Regions from separate parts of the Homo sapiens genome. Here all the other regions are linked to region 4. Evidence: promoter capture Hi-C in 16 types of primary human blood cells and fetal thymus (Javierre and others, 2016). All regions are on one chromosome and are shown on one strand. Each heading gives the region's core, a stretch centred on a gene start or on the middle of the fragment in contact. The rest is flanking DNA. Distances are from core to core; before and after follow the strand shown.

Region 1 (4,348 bases), core at 872-3,371, 710 kb before region 4:
ATGTAAGGTTAGGTCAAGCGGAGACAGGAAACACCAAAAGGACTCAAACTCCTCGTGGATAAAGAGCTGAAGTGCTGGCTGGAAAGAAAGTGAATGTTGAGTTTATAATGAAGGAAGAAGTCATAAATATTAACTACAGCTTCATGACTAGTTGACTTGTTGCAATTATGAGGACTGTGGTAAATATCTTTTTTTTTTCTTGTTCTATTTATGCACATCTTTATATCTATACATTAAACCCCTTCTCTCTCTCTCTCTACTATTTTATCCAATGTCTGTTGGTAATGGTTAATTTTAACACCTATGTCTTAGATTATATTATTCTATGGTTGTGACTAAACTAAAAAAGGAATAAATATCCTTCAGGATGGATACTGAGAAAGCACTTTTGGTCTGCCTTTTTGGGGAGGTGACTAAAAGTCTTAATTTCCTCAACAGAAAATTCCTGTAATCAGTATTTTCATGAACTTAACCCTCGTGTTTGGGGAAGGACTAGGCACTATGACAAATTCTGCTGTCTAAAAATACTTTTTTAGGGGCTGGGCATGGTGGCTCACACCCATAATCCCAGCACTTTGGGAGGCCAAAGGGGGCAGATCACCTGAGGTCAGGAGTTTGAAACCAGCCTGGCCAATATGATGAAACCCCGTCTCTACTAAAAATACAAAAATTAGCCAAGGGTGGTGGCACACACTTGTAATCCTAGCTACTCGGGAGGCAGAGGCCGGAGAATCGCTTGAACCCGGGATGCAGAGGTTGCAGTGAGCCAAGATCGTGCCACTGCACTCCAGCCTGGGTGACAAAGCGAGACCCTGTCACACACAAACACACACACACACACACACACACAAGGTGACAAATTGATGGAGTGGAGGCTCTGCAGTCAGATATAGCAAATTTGAACCCTGACTTGGATAATACAGATTGCGAGATTGGAGCAATGACTAAAGCCTCTACATCTTGATGTTCTGGACTAGAAAATTAGGATAATAAAAGCTATCTCCTAGAGTTGTTCTGACAATTAGACCAAAAGAGATAATGATGTAGAGACCTCAGCAAAGCACAAGGCCTAGTCACTAGCCGTGCTCCGGGAGGGCTGTCCAAAAGCAGGAAGAACAAGGGCAAAGAAACTCCATGGAACTCACTTTCCCACCAGGGAGTGAACCGCGGCGTCATGCTCCATTCTGAGTAGCTCCCAGCCGAGGCCGCCCTCACCCTCCCGTAATAAGGTTCCTGTATGTCTGAGGTTTCACTGGTAAGGTCACAAGAGAGTTCTTGAGTACCCCAACAGTCTTCTTTATTTTTCCATTGTCTCTGTCCATATCTGTAGCAGGGAAAAGGCAAAGATCTGAGTTTCTTTTCTCCACTCAAGGAGTCTTCAGTATTTTCAGACTAATAATTTTTTATACCTGATTCTAGTAGCAATACCACCATGATAGCTTATGGCTCCTCTTCAGAATCTTTAAAAAAATTCCTTCTTATTAACTGTTTCAGTCCATTTTCTGTTGCTATAACTGAATACCCGAGACTGGGTAATTTATAAAGAAAAGGAATTTATTTCTTACAGTTTTGGAGGCTAGGAAGTCTAATGTCTAAGAGCCATAAGAGCCACATCTGGTGAGGGCCTTCTTGCTGGTGGGGACTCTCTGCAGAGACTTAAGGTGACAGAGGACTTCACAGGGATTCAAGAGAGATGGCATATACATATATATACATATATATATAAAATATAAAATATATATAAAACAGACCAACTTTTTTGATAACTAGCCCACTTCCTCAATAACACATTAATTCGTTAATCCATCAATGGATGAATCCATTCATGGGGGCAGAATCCTCATGACCCAATCATCTCCCCAAAGTCCCACCTCTCAACATTGCTGCACTGGGGATCAGGTTTCCAACACATGAACTTTTGGGGGACACATAGAAACCACAGCATTACCTAAAGTGCTGTCTTGCTGGAAGATAAACATCCCTGACGCTTTCTGTATCACTAACATAAGGGTTTTAACCTTTTTTTTAATACTTGGCAAAATGTTCTTTCTGGTGTGTGGACTGACTTCCATTTTTGAATACTCACTCTCCACATCCTTAATGCTCTGTGGTTTTGGCTGTTTGTGGTTTTTCTCCACTTCTCATCAGCTTGCTGTTGAGTAATGTGGCTGCTTCTGAGAAGTTGCTACCACTTTTCATCTCAGGTGTTGCCTACCCAACATACATGATTAATCTCTTTATTGAAAATTGACGGGAACTTTTATTGAGGACTATATATGGAGCCCTGTAATTAGGGGTTGGGAGAGGGGGAGGGAATCCCATGAAAAAAGGTAGTGAGGCAAGAGGCAGAGTGGTTGACTCAGCCTGAGGCCACAGGATGGTGTAATAGTCAAAGGGAAGATTCACGCTTTGTTTCCTTACCTGCCATAAATCAGACCAATGTAACAAAGTGATGGTGGGGAAAAGAGAAGGAATTGGAGTCTGGGGAGAAAGGTTTCCCAAAATATTTATTGAAAGACTTGAAATCTAGCTTTCTAGACACATAATAAGGAAGATAGACGGTATCTATACTCGGTAATCTACATGGTGACAGCAGTTTCATTCCATCACAATTAAAGCAGAACCACAACATATATTGAGTATAATTTGATGTTTTAAAATTATTATTTATTTATAATAAGTCTTGAACTTAGCTGTAATGACAGACTTCTCTTTTAAAATAATATCTCATTGTTTATCCTATTCTAAACGCAAGGGATATAACAGTATTATAGCCCATGAACTGGATACACCAAAGTGAAAGTTTTCAAAATTATAAATTTGTCTTGTGCTGTTGAAAATCCCTTAGAGACAGGAATGGATTCAGGTATTCTGGGGTCTGAAATTTATACAATCTTGGTCCATTTAATGTTTCTATAACAGAACACCTGAGGCTAGGTAATTGATAAGGAAAAGAGGTGTACTTAGCCAATGTTCTGCAGCCTGGGAAGTTACAAGAAATGTGCTGCCAGCATCCACTTGGCTTCTGGTGAGAGCTTTTCATGCTGCATGAGAACATGCTAGAGAAGGTCAATGGGGAAAACAGATCGTGTGAAGAGGCCAAACTCAAGGGGCATCCTGGCTTTACAACAACCACTCTCATAGAAACATTTCCATGACAAATTCAGTCTTGCAAGAGTGAGAACTCACTCAACTGCAGCAATAATGGTACCAAGCCATTCATGAGTGCTCCATCCCCATGACCCAAACACCTCCTACGAGGCCCTACTTCCAACACCACCACACTAAGGATCAAATTTCAACATGAATTTTGGTGGAGACAAACTCAAACCATAGCAGCTTGGGAGTCCTCTTTAGGAAAAGATTTATAAATATAAAATCCTTGCATTGGGGTCCTGAAGTTTAATCTTCATTAGATTCATGGTAAAACAGTTTCTAATCTTCTTAGTACTTTGGACCACAAATAGGTCCACTTTTGACCTATTTATACTACTCCAGGGGAAGCATAAAAAGAGTACCAATCTTTACTTTCTGCATGCTGAAAGTATCTCCAGCAATGCACAAATCTACTTTTGTAATGGAGAAACCTTCATTGTAAAGATTTGTACATTTTACAATCGCTACATAAAATATGTAGAGAGAAGTCGTAGCGGTTAAAGATGGAGATGCTTCTGGGGATATTCCTTCCGAAATTAATTAGCAGGAAAATCTGACCTAGGACCTACCCCATGCTGGAGAGACATGGATGAATTTATGGGATAAAAATTGCTACTTTGGCCATAGCTGCATTTGATTTCCTGAATTTCTATTGAAAAACCATGAAAGCTAAACTGTAATATCTCCTGTCTCACTGTCAGGAGACAGGATTGAGCCTCAACCCCCCTCACCCCCCCAGAAATATATGAGTGGAAAAACCTGACATTTTCAAGTCAAGAGTGTTTGTTTCCAAGCCTTGAGCCAGGAAAGGAGTAGATTATATCTGAGTTTTGGCAATGATCCAGCAGGAGTAGCCTGAGGATCACACGAGAGGAACATGCAGCAGCGTGTTCCAGTTTGTGTTCATGCTTACGAGAGTCATTAGTTTTTGAAAGGAATTTTCTAAATAGTAAATCCACTCTGAAAGTGACTTTTAAATTAAAACCTTATTTTACACACTCACCACCATGTTTGCCACAACTTCTTTTTCAACTACCGATAGTTTCACTCACTGAGTACTCGCTATGTGCTAATAAGTTGCTTCCAACATTCGCCTGACAAATCTATATTGAGAACCCACCATGTGCCAGGCTCCTCCATGGAGGCAAAGGCTGAGCCTGTGAGGTCTTGGTGCAGGTCTAGGGCTGAAGTA
Region 2 (4,477 bases), core at 1,169-3,668, 770 kb before region 4:
CCATGTGACATGCATGCTCCCCCTTTGCCTTCTGTGATGATTGGAACCACCCCGAGGCCTCACCAGGAGCAGATGCTGGTGCCATGCTTGTACAGCCTGCAGAACTGTGAACCAAATAAACCTTTTTTTCTTTGCAAATTACACAGCCTCAGGTATTCCTCGAGCAATGCAAATAGACTAACACAGCAATTAAATGCCAATAAAACAATTAATCTTAAAAAACCTCACTAACCTTTTTGGAGCACCCTGTTTATTGCTGTGGGTGTGTGACAGCTGGAAGACAGGGCTCATGGAAAGGTCAAAGGAGGCATGGGCACCCATTCCCCTTGCCCCTGTTGTTGCTGCAGATGGTATGTTGCTCAATATCATATCAGTATGACTACCCGGAATCCTGGGTGATAAGAAGTACAACTGGAGACTGGGACACACACAGTGACTGCTTCTGCAGTGTGGGGATTCTGTATAAAAGCCCTTCCCCCTGGCTCTAGGTACTGGCCACCCTCCCAAGGGATGTGAGATATTTCTGCAATCACTTACCTCCTTCCTCCTCCTGTTTCTCTCCAGCCTGTGCAGTGCAGGGAAGAGCACTGGCTCTCATGCCATACTGCTGGGGTCTGCTTTTGTGCTTCCCCACCTGGTGGCTCTGAGATCTTAGCCAAGCACTGTACCTTCCTGGGGCTGCTGTAACAAAGCACCACAAGTTGGGTGGCTTAGAACAGCAGAAATATGTCGTCTCACAGATCTGCGGGCTGCAAGTCAGACCATGATGTTAATAGGGTTGATTCCTTCTGAGGGCCACCAAGGAGACTCTGTTCCAGGCCTTACTCCAAGCTTCTCGTGGTTTGCCAGCAATCTTTGGCATTCTTTGGCTTGCAGCAGCATAATTCCAGTCTTTTTTGTGTGTATGACAGGGTCTCTCTCTGTCGCCCAGGCTGGAGTGCAGTAGTGCAATCTCGGCTCACTGCAACTTCTGCCTCCCGGGTACAAGCGATTCTCCTGCCTCAGCCTCCCGAGTAGCTGGGATTATAGGCACCCACCACCATGCCCGGATAATTTTTGTATTTTTAGTAGAGACAGCATTTCACCATGTTAGTGGGGCTGGTCTCAAACTCCTGACCTCAAGTGATCTGCCTGGCTCGGCTTCCCAAAGTGCTGGGATTACAGGCATGAGCTACCGTGTCTGGCCATTACATGGTATAATCACTGTGTGTGTGTGTCTGTGTTTTCACATAGCATTCTTTTTGAAGGACACCAGTCATATTGGATTAAGGGCCCACTCTACTCCAATAAGACCCCATCTTAACTAATTACATCTGCAACCATCATATTTTTGAATAAGGCCGCATTTGGGGTACTGGGAGTTAGAACTTTAACATATGAATTTTGTGGAGACACAATTCAACCTTTGAAAACAACAGATTTAACATCTCAGTCTTCTCATCTATAAACCAGGGATATTAGTAACATCCACATTGCAGAGTTGGTGTAAAAAAGATTCAGTCATTTCCTAGACAACCGCTGTAACCAGCTAAGCCTTGAAGCCACATGCTCAGTCATTTAGAACATGTTAAGCACATCGAGACATCTCTGGCTCACAGCTAGCAGCTGGTAAATGTGAGCCATCATTATTTTTCACAACTACATGTGCAGATTTTGACCCTGGGAGAATTTTTTGTTCTAGATTTACACACTAACACCCCTCCCATCTGACCTTTGACCAAGGTTTTTACTACACGTATAAAAATAATAATATAAAGGAGTATGAGCCAAGTACTAAAGTCCTGAGGAGGTGATATCTCTGTGTGCCAAGCAGTCACGGAAGCCTTCATGGGTGATGTTAGAAGACTGTTTTAGTCTGTGCTTGCACTACTATCAAGAACTATCTGAAACTGGGCAATTTATAAAGAAAAGAGGTTTAATTGGCTCATGGTTCTGCAAGGCTGTGCAGAAAGCATGGTGGCTTTTGCTTCTGGGGAGGCCTCAGGAAGCTTCCAATTGTGGTAAAAGGCAAAGGGAGAGCAGGAGTCTTACATGGCTGGAGCAGCAGCAAGAGAGAGGAAGTGGGGAGGTGCTGCACACTTTTAAATGACCAGATCTCATGAGAACTCACTCACTATCATGAGAACAGCACCAAGGGGATGCTGCGAAACTACTGACAAGAAATCGCTCCAATTGTCCAATCATCTGTCACCAGGCCCCACTTCCAACACTGGGGATTACAATTTGACATGGGATTTGGGTGGAGACATGTATCCAAACCATATTACAGACCTTGAAGATGGGGAAGGGGATTGAATCCTTTGATCAAAATCCCATTTTGTGCCTCTGATTTTGGGAAAAATTACTGATCTTCCTTGAACTTCAATTTCTCTATAAAATGGCAATAATATAGTTGTTGCATTGATTAAATGAGACAAGGTAAAGTGTTTGTCAGATGCCCCAAACCCAATAGGTGCTCAGTGAATATTTTTTAAAAATATAGAAGTTATGTTGTGGGCAAAGACTTGGGCAAATTATTAGGAACAAGACTGTAGCTTTTGGGCAGAGCACAGTTGGACTTACTGGCTCAGTAATTCCACATTTGAGTAGAACAACAACTAGTTTCTCAATGATGACACATCAGGATCAAACACCCGGGGGACCTCTCCTGCAATTGCTGTTCTCTTTGAAGAAGCTCCTTTTAAATAGAAGACAGTACCTTGAAATATGGCCACAGGAGGTCAGTAGCGTGCTGTGGTTCTACGCAGAAGCAAAAAAACAGTCCCCTCTAAGCATCTTTAAGCCATAAATTCCTTGTTGTAAACTAAGAATATGTTATTCCTTCCATATTTTCAGATAAATTGACAGCTAAGCTTAAAGAAATTATGCTTTCAGCTTGTAATATGGAATAGACAGGCACTAACTTATTCTTAAAGACTCTTATTATGACACGGCTGTGTTTGAAGAAATGGTTTTGTTTTGTTTTTTAATGAAACCTGTGTTTTGGTCAAGAGTGTTACCACATTCAGATCACAACTTTTCTAAGGAAATACACTCAAAGACACCTAACATTTGAGTGAGATTAATCATAATGTAAGATTTCTGTGATGTGTGCAATGGGGCTTCAATATCTTAGATCTCACCATGATGGGCAATTGCTTGTCTTTTTCGAGCCTTGATTTCTCATCTTTAAGACAGGAGTGACGCGGCTGTTGTCATAATTAAGTGAGGAAATGTAGTTAAAGCACCGACCACCAAGCCCTAAACATTTTGTGCTTCTGGATGCCCAGTATCCTTCCTGTTTGGGGAGAATCTGAAGATGGGTGAGGGACAGGGCTTGTCCCTCGCCGCAATGGAAGTCAAAGGGGGACGATCTTTCTTCGACTCTTTGACCCCTGGCTGCTGGAGCATGGTCATGTGACCAAAGCGTGGCTGGGCATCTCAAAGGCTCAGCCACTTGCATATTATTTGTGATGTCAGGTGTAGGCTAGTGGCGTAATAGCAAGCACCCGGGATCAGCAGGTCCCTGCAGGATGTTGGCGGGGCTTTGCCTACCTTCGTTTCTGCCTAAGTATGCTGAGTTTTCCCAACAACGCTGGGAGCTTATTTATATCCTTCTAACAAATTCAGGTTAGCCAGAAAATCTACTGTTGTTTGCAACCCAAAACACTGAAGAGTGTAAGATTCAAGTTTAAGTTTATGGTAAATGTGCAAAATTACTCGTTAAAGGATTCTGGCTGGTATATAATAGAGTTTTCTCCTGAGGTTTTTTCCACAGTACAATCGATGATTGTAAAAGAAAAGCTGAATAATTGAAAAAAGGCCTAGTGTTTTGACATGACAATAGAAATAATATTTACTAGACACAGAGAGCAGGGTTTCAACCATCCTGTAATTGTCAGCCATGCAGCAGGGCTGTCTGAGGACAGCTGTGCATGTAAATCATCACTGGTTGCCTGGATGAGATAACTAGGTTACTGGTGGCTTCCCCTTCTTCTGGCTTCAGAGGTTGCACCCAAACTCAGTTTCCCATGGGCCCAGTGACTTCCTCTCTCATATCCTCCCACACCAGACCTTCAATGAGACTAAATGGAAATATCTCTGAAATCCACTGATGAGAGAGCAGTAGAACTAACACTGTATATATGTGTGTGTGTACATACTTCAGTATGAAAACAGGAATTCCTATGCATAAATGGCATAACAACACCATATGGCCCCTCACCAATGCATCAGAAGGTAAATAGCTTCTCTTCAGATGATGTTAGAAGAATCATTTGTCCAGTTATTCAAGTTAAATGTCATTTACTTTTGAAATGTTTCTTTGTGATTTAAAGCCTGTCACTAAAAACAAACCCCACACCACCACCACAAAACAAAAACCAAAAAATAAAAGCAAACCACTGCTCTTTGCTTCTCAAACTCTCTCACTGCCTGATATCACACTCACCAGGAAATTTTCTTGGTGATAGAACTTCCATTTCCTCACTGTCTCCCT
Region 3 (4,510 bases), core at 560-3,059, 630 kb before region 4:
GGCTCTGACTCCTGAAAAGAAAGCTTGTCTTCTAAAGTTGCCAAATAATCTGGTCTGCCTTCAATTGAAGGGACTTTGAATCGTGGGAAGAGGAAAGGGGAGAGCTGTGCTAAAAAGATGAGTCATTGCTTCAAGATTGAGGAAGCAAGGTTTTATATCTCGGGGACTTTTCAGGAGGAGGATCAGTGTTTCTTGATGGTGAAAACAAGGAAGTGGAGGAAGGGAAGAAAGCACACCCAAGTATTTATTTTCCCTTCTGTCTTTGAATGCACATTCTTCCTATTATATTTTCTATTTGCCACATCTCTTACTCATTTTAACAACTTTTTGTTAAGAATACCTATTGGTTAAAAATTATTTTTTATTTCTTAACATTGCAGTTTGCTTTCTATACTATGTCCTTAATTGACTACCTCTGTATAAGTAGCTGGTACACATGTATTTTTTTTCAGGAATCCTTTCTTACTTATATTCAGATGTGGCTTAATTGGACAAACCCCACTGAGGTTCATCACTTTTCTTTTCCTTTTCTGCTTGACTGTCCTCTTTCTCCTCCAGCCATCCATCCACCTGCGAGAAAGGGCTATAAAAGGCGTCCTTACTTCCTTAAGAGGAAGGAAATGGCAGTGAGTTTTTTCACCAGTAGAAACATGTAGATGAGTCATATTTATAGCCTTTTTTTTTTTTGTCACCCACGCTGGAGTGCAGTGGCGCACTCTCTGTAGCCTAATTCTTTAATGCATACACCTGTTTAGTAGGCATTTCATTGCCAACCTTTCAATGCTCTTATGGGTATTTAGTATGATCTGTGAGAATCTGGAGGACTGGTTAGTATATTAAGTCCTGAACTTTTTAAAAGAAACTTGGTTGCTTGTTCTGTTGGTATGAATTAAGTTCTCAACCAAGAAAATAGATTAATTAATTGGGCAATGTTAGTTGTGGGCATAGTTTTAGGAAGACTTCTAGGATCTTTAAAATATCCACTTCTGCCTCTTTCTGGGATGAGAACTATAATACTTTTTCTTAAAATCACTTTGAGCAAATTATAATATACATACAGAAAAGTGCACATACGTGAATATAATTATTCATTTTCAAAAACTGAGAATATCTAAGTAACCAGCAGCTCCCAGTCCTCTTTATACTCCCTGCTATTCTTTTCTCTTTAGCCTACAGGGAACCCTTGTCCTCACTTCTAATAGCAGAGCTTGGTTTTTCCTGTTTTGTACCTTATATAAGTGGAATCTTACTTTAGGTAGTCTGGTGTCTAGATTCTTTTGCTGAACATCAATTTTTTTAAAGTACGTTTTAATACTGTTTTCAATTTATTCTCATGTGCAAAGCCTTGGACGTACAGGGAAGTGTGAGAAAAAACCTGAAAACCAGTAAGCATAATCTCATCACCTATAGAGACCTACTATTATAATTTTTGGCTATTTTTTTGGAATACTTTTTATATGAAATGTTTAAAAATTTTACATAGCTAAGTATGCTGTGTATTTAACTTTGAATTCTGTCTTATTTTGGCTTAATATTATATTTTAGCATCTATTTTTAAAAAAATTATTATTACTGTTACTATTTTTAGTGACGGATCTGCCTCTGTCACCCAGACTGGAGTGCGGTGGTGCAATCATAGCTCACTGCAGCCTCGAACTCCTGTGCTCAACCAATCCTCTGCCTCAGCCTCCCAAGTACCTGGGACTACAGACATGTACCCCCATGCCCAGTTGAATTTTAAAACTCTTTTTAGAGATGAAGTCTCCCTATTTTGTGCAGCCTGGTCTTGAACTCCTGGGCTCAAATGATCCTCTTGCCTCAGCCTCCTGAGTAGTTGGGATTACAGACCATGAGCCAACATGCTTAACTCAGCATTTTATTTTTCATTAAAGACTTCATAAACATTTTAAAAGGCTGAATATTGTCATTTTATAAATGAACCATCATGTACTTACCTATTCCCTTTAGGGTGAATATTTAGATGGTTTCCAAATTGTTGCCGAACAAGTAATGCAGTGGTTGACATTTTAATACAGAAATATTTTGTTTGCTTCCCTCTTTCCCTCCGCCACTTCTTTCCTTCAATTTTTCTTTTTCTTTCTCTATTTTCTATCTTCCTTCCTTACTGTAAATACTTTTCATGTGCCAGTTACTGTTATAGGTACTAGGGAGAAAGCAGTGAGTAAACCAAAGTACTTGCCCTCATTTGCTTTCATGATTCTAACTTACTTCTTTTTTTTTTTTTTTTTTTTTGAGATGGAGTCTTGCTCAGTCGCTCAGGCTGTAGTGCAGTGGCACGATCTCAGCTCACTGCAAGCTCCGCCTCCCGGGTTCACACCATTCTCTTGCCTCAGCCTCCCGAGTAGCTGGGACTACAGGTGCCCGCCACCACGCCTGGCTAATTTTTTTTTTGTATTTTTAGTAGAGACAGGGTTTCACCATATTAGCCAGGATGGTCTTGATCTCCTGATCTTGTGATCCACCTGCCTCAGCCTCCCAAAGTGCTGGGATTACAGGCGTGAGCCACCGTGCCCTGCCACTACTTTTGAAAATCAGATTTATTGAGGTATTATTTATATTTGCATGCAGTCAAAAGCATCACTTTCAACATACATTTTATGGCATTGACAACCTATACAGTCATCTAAGTACAACCACAATCAAGTTAATTCACAAAAAGTTCCCTTAGGTCCCTTTGCAGTCACCTACCTCCACCCACCACCTAGTAAACGCTTATCTGTTTTCCATCTGTACAGATTAGCCTTTTCCTGAATGCCATAGAAATGGAATCATTCAGGACTTAGCCTTTTGTCTCCGTCCCCTTCCCTTGGGATACTGCTTTTGAGATGCATCTGTGTTGTTGCGTGCATCAACACTTAGTTCTTTTTTATTCTAGAGCAGGCTTCCATTTTATGGATGTACAACATTTTGAAAAGATCGATCTGTTCACCAGTTGGTGGTCATTTGGGTTGTTTCCAGTTGTTGGTGATTATGAATAAAGCTGCTGTAAACATTCACTTTTAGACTTTTCTGTATGTGGACACATGTTTTAGTTTATGTGGGCCAAATACCTAGGGGTGGGACTGCTGGGTCATGTGCCACGAATTTGTTTAACTTTATAAGAAACTGCCAAACTATTTTCCAAAGTGGCTAAACCATTTTGAATTCCTGCCAGCAGTAAATGAGAATTCCACTTGCTCTGTGCCCTTGTAGTAAAATATTTTCAGGTTTTTAAAAGTTTTACTTTTTTCTAATAGGTATATGAGCTTATATTTTATTGGAAAGCATCTGTCCTTTGCCCAACTTAATCAGTGTTGATATATTTCAATCTCTCACACTTCCTTATAGATTAACAGAGACTGGTGGATCAGTCCCCTCAAATTCTGATGATTAGAAGGGGCCTCTTGGAATTCCTGAGTGGCAATTCTAACTGTGGGTTCTTTGGAGTTCAGGCAGACCTTTGGGGTTGACAAGTATTAGGAGTGTGCTGTATATCAGGAGGGCATGTTTGTGCACTGGGGTGGGGAAGTGGGTGAGGGAAGCCTGCCATTGGTATGTTTCTTTTAAGAGCAGAAGAACCTGGGAAATTCCCAAGGAAAGCTTTGTTCCCAGATGACTAAGCAAGATGGGCTGCTGGTGAGCTTAAACTAGGAGACAGCCTGGGGCAGTACTCAGGAATCCAGTCCTGAAATAACAGGGGCCTGAACTAGATTGTAATGTTGGTAAAGGCTGGGTGTGATAAAATAAAAAAAAATGTATAAAGAGGGTGGAAATGATAAAAGGATTATCAAAATTAGTAGCTGAATATTATTGACATGAGGGTAAATAAGGAGTTGACATGCTTGAAGTTTCACATTTAGACAATAAGGAGAAGGATCCCAACAGTACAGTGAAACATTTTTCAAGTCCCTGTCTTGCTAAATCCAATGGTCATGCACTTCCCCAGCTGCATTTTACTTGACCTATCAGCATATTGACATAGGCTAACTGACACACAAGAAGGTCCCTTCTTCTTTCCTCTCTGAATCTTAGGGTACTGTTATACTTCCTCTTGATTCCTTTGTTTTACTGGCTGCTCTTTCTCATTCTCCTTTGCTGATTCCTCCTTATTCTCCTTTGCTGGTTCCTCCTCATCTTCTCCACATCCGAATATTTAAATCTCTAGCCCAAACCTTTTTCTTAGACCCCAGACTTGCATATTTACCTAGCTACTCAACACTTCCCCTTGAGTGTCTAATAAACATCTCAAACTTCAACATATCCACGACCAAACTCTGGATCTCCATAACCCCAAGCCTGCTTCTTTCAGTCTTCCTCTCTTCTTCCAAATGCTCAGGCGCAAAACCTTGAGATCACCTTTGATGTCCCTCTTTCTTTTCTGCCCCACATTATCTCCATCAGCGTATGTTTCTGGCTTCACCTACAAAATATGCCTGGAATCTGACCATTTCTTTCCAATTCTACTGCACCGTAGTGGACCAAATCATCATTATCTCCTAACTGGATTCTT
Region 4 (4,293 bases), core at 1,693-4,192:
ACAGAGCAAGACGACGTCTCAAAAAAAAAAAAAAGAATCAACAACCAATCAACTGTTGCTGATTCTTGATTAAGAAAGGCTCATGAAATATGTTTGAGCTCAGCAGGGTCTCCTCTCACTTGTCACACGTGGTGCTCTCTTTCATCAGGTTCTTCCTGCTCCCCCCATCTGGGCAAGCACATCTTTTTTACTGCATGGTACAGGGATACAGGCTGCAAGCACAGTCTCACGGGAACCGTTTAATTCCAAGAGGTCATGTGTGCTCATTTTACATAGTTCATGACCCATAAACCCCAGCATTGGTGTCAAAATGGCACGTAACTTAGGAACTCTCCAAAAATATTTCACATAATCAGAATTCCTTTTTCATCTAATAAGGAGACATATTTTTTCTCCTAAGTGTCTACTAAATGTTAATAAATATTCTCTTCTTTAAAGAGTTCTGTCCATCTTGACAAGGCCTATAGCTCAAATTAAATCTCCTTCAAGGCTTTTCAGCATTCTATATCTCTTTGGTTTCAACTTATTCAACAAATCTCCCCAAATTGTATTTCTCCTTTTTTTCATAAGAAGGCATTCCATCTATACTCTCTCCTTCTCTTCTTTTCTTTCCTTCTGATTCACCAAGAAAATTGTCATTGGTCTTGTCCATGTGTTACATAATAGAAGGGGAAAAGGCAAGGGTACAGCCCAACACAGCGCTGATTTAGAAGGTGGAAAGGACAGTAAAGACCGCCTGGTGGTGGGAGTGGCAATTCACAAGCCCAGCAGTAGAATCATGGAAAGTGGAGTTCGAACATAATCCAGGGCTATAGACCACTCCTGCATCTGACTGCTATTACCTTGTCACAAATCCTGGCAGGCAAGATGACAAAGCAGTTACATCAGGACAGTTGGCAGTGGCAGGTATGAACGTGGCCCCTCAGGCTTGTCACTCCTCTTTACTGCACTCCCAGTTCATGACACCAGACAGCAAGACATGAGCCAGATAGGGGCAGTGGAAGCTGCAGGAGGATTGAAGTCATGGAGCCAGAGATGAGAGGAAACAGGCCAACTCTGTTTACAAAGGAGCACCAGCAGGAGAGTGGTGTGAGGATTAACATTCCATGCAGGGTCTTTCAGATACATGATCTTCTTCTGCCAGCTCAACTGAAACCCAGGAGGTTTCCTGAAGGTGAAACCAAGACCCTTCTACCTCTGAAGCCGCATTCTGTCTAAGGTCCGTGTTTGGCTGTTTTGAGAGGCTGGGAGACAGGACACCAAAAGAGTACCTGTCTCACAGGATCTTTCCTGAGAGGAATGGTCTAGTAAGACTGGTCATTATGGGCTTTGGAGTAACACAGGCTTAATGCCACTGGCGACTCTGCCCCTTTTGGTTGTGGAAACTGGGCAAATGCCTCAAGCTTCTTAACCTTCATATAAAAAGCATATATAAGCATATAGCAAGTACTTGATAAATGTCATTTTAGACCCTGTCATTTCTGCTAGCCCTGGACTCCAGCAAGGTCCATTTACAATGGATAGCTGACTATCCATTGTTTGAATGTTGATAGCACATTTGTGAACAAGAAGAGAGGACAAATAACAAGAGGTTTGGAACTGGAAGAAATTCCAGCCATCGGTTTTAAAAGACGAGGACCAGTCTTCAGAGAGGCCACTAGTGACACTCTGCTCCAAACTTCTTTTTGCCAAAAAAGTGCCACCCTCCATCCAGCCCCCACCCCCATCTCTGCAAGTCCTTACTGGCGAGAGGAGGATACTTTTCTAATTAAAAACCTGTGATATATGGCCTGACAAGTATTCTTAAATGTAATTAAGGGGACCATAGTACAGAATATTTCCATCCGGTTCTAGTTTAGCCAATCTAGTAAATGATCCAAAGGGTCCCGTGCTTAGAGGGCAGTAAGACAGTAAAAACGCCCTAAGACTCCTCCCTGCACAGCACCTGCACCCCCACTGCCCAGGGGGCTGCATCCATCTCCACATGACTCACCCTCCCTGTGCAACGCATGGGGGTAGGGAGGGAAGCGCCAGTATTATCAGCCATCAGCACCCTGGGGTGAACTGATTATCAGGACAACTAAAAACACACCTAATAAAGCCTTGGAGACACATGGCAAGCACCGTGATGGACTAGAAGCGATTTCTAAGCTGAAATGCTGCTTTGAATGCAATGTCAGCTGGATGCTTGGTGAGCAGAAATAGACAAGGGGAAATGGAGCAAGCGCGGCATAGGGGTGAGTGTTGTTCTGATTCCTAAGTTTACCTAAGACTGGGGCCACGGGGTCGGGTGTCCCCTGGGACCTACGTCTCATGCAGCCTGGGGTCCAGAGCTGGCAGGAACAATGGAGATGGGGACCAAAGGCTGTCACCGCTGCTTTTTCTCGAAATGCCCGCCCGGGTCCTGTCTGGGGCTCCCGCCTACGCGCTCATCACGTGCACAGCCCAAACTTTTCAGAGCCGGCCCGAGGCCTGCGGGCCCGGGCGCCAGGGTGGTTTTTAGGGTTTTCTTTCTTTCTTATTTCCCTTCTTCTTCTCCACAGTTGATGATTTTCTGCAGAAAAACAACTGCGAAAAAGAACCTATTTCATTTCCAGTTCCCATCACCGCGATTTCCACATGGATGTGACGTGACCCCAGCTTCCGAAATGCCCAGGTGACTCACGCGGGGACACCCCGGGGCGGGGCGAGGGAGTTTCTCCGGGCGCCTGCAGGGACCGGGCGGGGCGGGGCAGCGGGGCGGGGCAGGGAAAGGGGGCGGGGCGGGGCCCGCAGGCCCGGTCGGGCGGAGGCCGCGCGCGCCCCTCGCCCCCTGCGCCCTCTGGCGGCCGGCTGGACGCACTTCGCAGCCCGACCCAGAGAGTCACGTGACTTTGGAAAGTCCCGTGGAAATCCCCGGGCCTACAACCCGCATACAACTGAAACGGGGCAAAGCAGACTGCGCAGTCTGCAGTCTTCGTGGCGGGCCAAGCGAGCTTGGAGCCCGCGGGGGCGGAGCGGTGAGAGCGGCCGCCAAGAGAGATCACACCCCCAGCCGACCCTGCCAGCGAGCGAGCCCGACCCCAGGCGTCCATGGAGCGTCGCCTCCGCCCGGTCCCTGCCCCGACCCCCGCCTGCGGCGCGCTCCTGCCTTGACCAGGACTTGGGACTTTGCGAAAGGATCGCGGGGCCCGGAGAGGTAACCGCCGCGCCTCCCGGAGAGGTAACCGCCGCGCCTCCCGGAGAGGTAACCGCCGCGCCTCCCCGTGCCGTCTGCCTCGGGCTCACCGCAGTCAAGGGCTGCGGGTGCATGTTGGGCAGCGACCCCCGGGCTGGCACCGTCTACCTGGCGTTGGTTTTGCAGCGCTCCTGGACTGGGAGTTTGTTGGACGTTTCTGTCTGGGTTTTGAAGTGCTGGGAGTTGAGGTCACTGCTGCAGAGGTTGGAGTGACAGCCCTGGATACCTCCAGCCAGCTGTTCCTTTCAGATAATGCACGGAACTTAAGCTGCAGCTGACTGGTGAAGAGGCGCCCCTCGGGCCCTCCGATCGGGTGGTCGTTGGCGCTTTGCTCCTTTCGTGTCTTTTTTGGAGCCAAGCGTTGCATGCTCATGGCCACGTAGACCTTGCAGAAGCGCTGCGGCTTTTTCCCAAATTGTGCAGGACCAGCCCGACGGGGCGTAGGGTACCGCAGTGGCCGCCAGCCCGGCGGAGGTGGGGGGCTTCAGTCCCAGAGACAGCTTCCCAGACGCTCACGGGTCCTTGCAGGGGGCTGGGGTCCTGGCGCGGGGTTCAGCTTTTCCAGTAGCAGCAGTGTAAGAGAAGTATGCATGTAGACGTGGGTCGCTGGCCCCTGCTCCAGCCCCTACCCCACGGTTAGACTGTCTTTGTCAGCTGGAGTCGTCCCACATCCTGCCACCTGGCCTCTCAGAAAAGCAGTGGCATTAAGTAAGGAAGGAGCTTAACTCTTTTTGAGCCCGCTTTGTTTTCGGTTCTCCTCGCCTCAGATCTTCTTGCCTTGGAAAGCCAGTCTGGTCAAGTGTCTCAGGGTAGCATTTTGGCAGAACCATTGTTAATTAAAGGGACTTCTGGACCGCAACCTTAATGTACCAGATTATTGAGCAGCCAATGAATGCTTCATTCTCATTGTTTAAGGTGCTGCTTTGATTTTTTTTTCAATTCTTTGTACTATTTTTGATTTTTTGGAGAGGCACATCCCCAAATTTGGATGAGGTATTTGTTGATAAATAATTCATCAATTTCCACAATGCAGACAAAAATGTCTGCCCAGAGTGGAAAAATAAAACAAGGGGGAG

What was found. The method cuts DNA at HindIII sites, captures the fragments that hold promoters and counts their contacts. A CHiCAGO score of 5 or more calls a contact.
Region 1: a fragment that was not itself captured here is called in contact with the fragment with the promoter of TNFAIP3 in region 4 in 1 of 17 cell types (monocytes); the score reaches 6.6 in monocytes.
Region 2: a fragment that was not itself captured here is called in contact with the fragment with the promoter of TNFAIP3 in region 4 in 1 of 17 cell types (M1 macrophages); the score reaches 5.5 in M1 macrophages.
Region 3: a fragment that was not itself captured here is called in contact with the fragment with the promoter of TNFAIP3 in region 4 in 2 of 17 cell types (M1 macrophages and naive CD8 T cells); the score reaches 5.5 in M1 macrophages.

Annotation. Positions count from the first base shown.
Region 1 is chr6:137,153,796-137,158,143 of GRCh38, forward strand. It overlaps IL22RA2 (interleukin 22 receptor subunit alpha 2), which reads right to left. Exons shown (of 7, transcript NM_052962.3): 4 at 2,964-3,059; 5 at 1,146-1,324. Among named protein-coding and RNA genes, the nearest start is that of IL22RA2, 18 kb to the right of the region's middle. The HindIII fragment of the contact is 9,502 bases long and covers 1-4,348 here.
Region 2 is chr6:137,091,826-137,096,302 of GRCh38, forward strand. No RefSeq gene overlaps it. Among named protein-coding and RNA genes, the nearest start is that of IL20RA, 49 kb to the left of the region's middle. RefSeq lists enhancers at 2,495-2,544, 2,565-2,814, 4,222-4,361. The HindIII fragment of the contact is 864 bases long and covers 1,987-2,850 here.
Region 3 is chr6:137,234,027-137,238,536 of GRCh38, forward strand. No RefSeq gene overlaps it. Among named protein-coding and RNA genes, the nearest start is that of IFNGR1, 17 kb to the left of the region's middle. The HindIII fragment of the contact is 3,577 bases long and covers 22-3,598 here.
Region 4 is chr6:137,864,317-137,868,609 of GRCh38, forward strand. It overlaps TNFAIP3 (TNF alpha induced protein 3), which reads left to right and starts at 2,943. Exons shown (of 9, transcript NM_001270508.2): 1 at 2,943-3,226. WAKMAR2 (wound and keratinocyte migration associated lncRNA 2) reads right to left here and starts at 3,917. Exons shown (of 4, transcript NR_049793.1): 1 at 3,326-3,917; 2 at 2,267-2,568; 3 at 843-1,004. RefSeq lists an enhancer at 2,480-2,619 and silencers at 2,700-2,839, 3,080-3,249, 3,390-3,489. The HindIII fragment of the contact is 5,781 bases long and covers 1,402-4,293 here.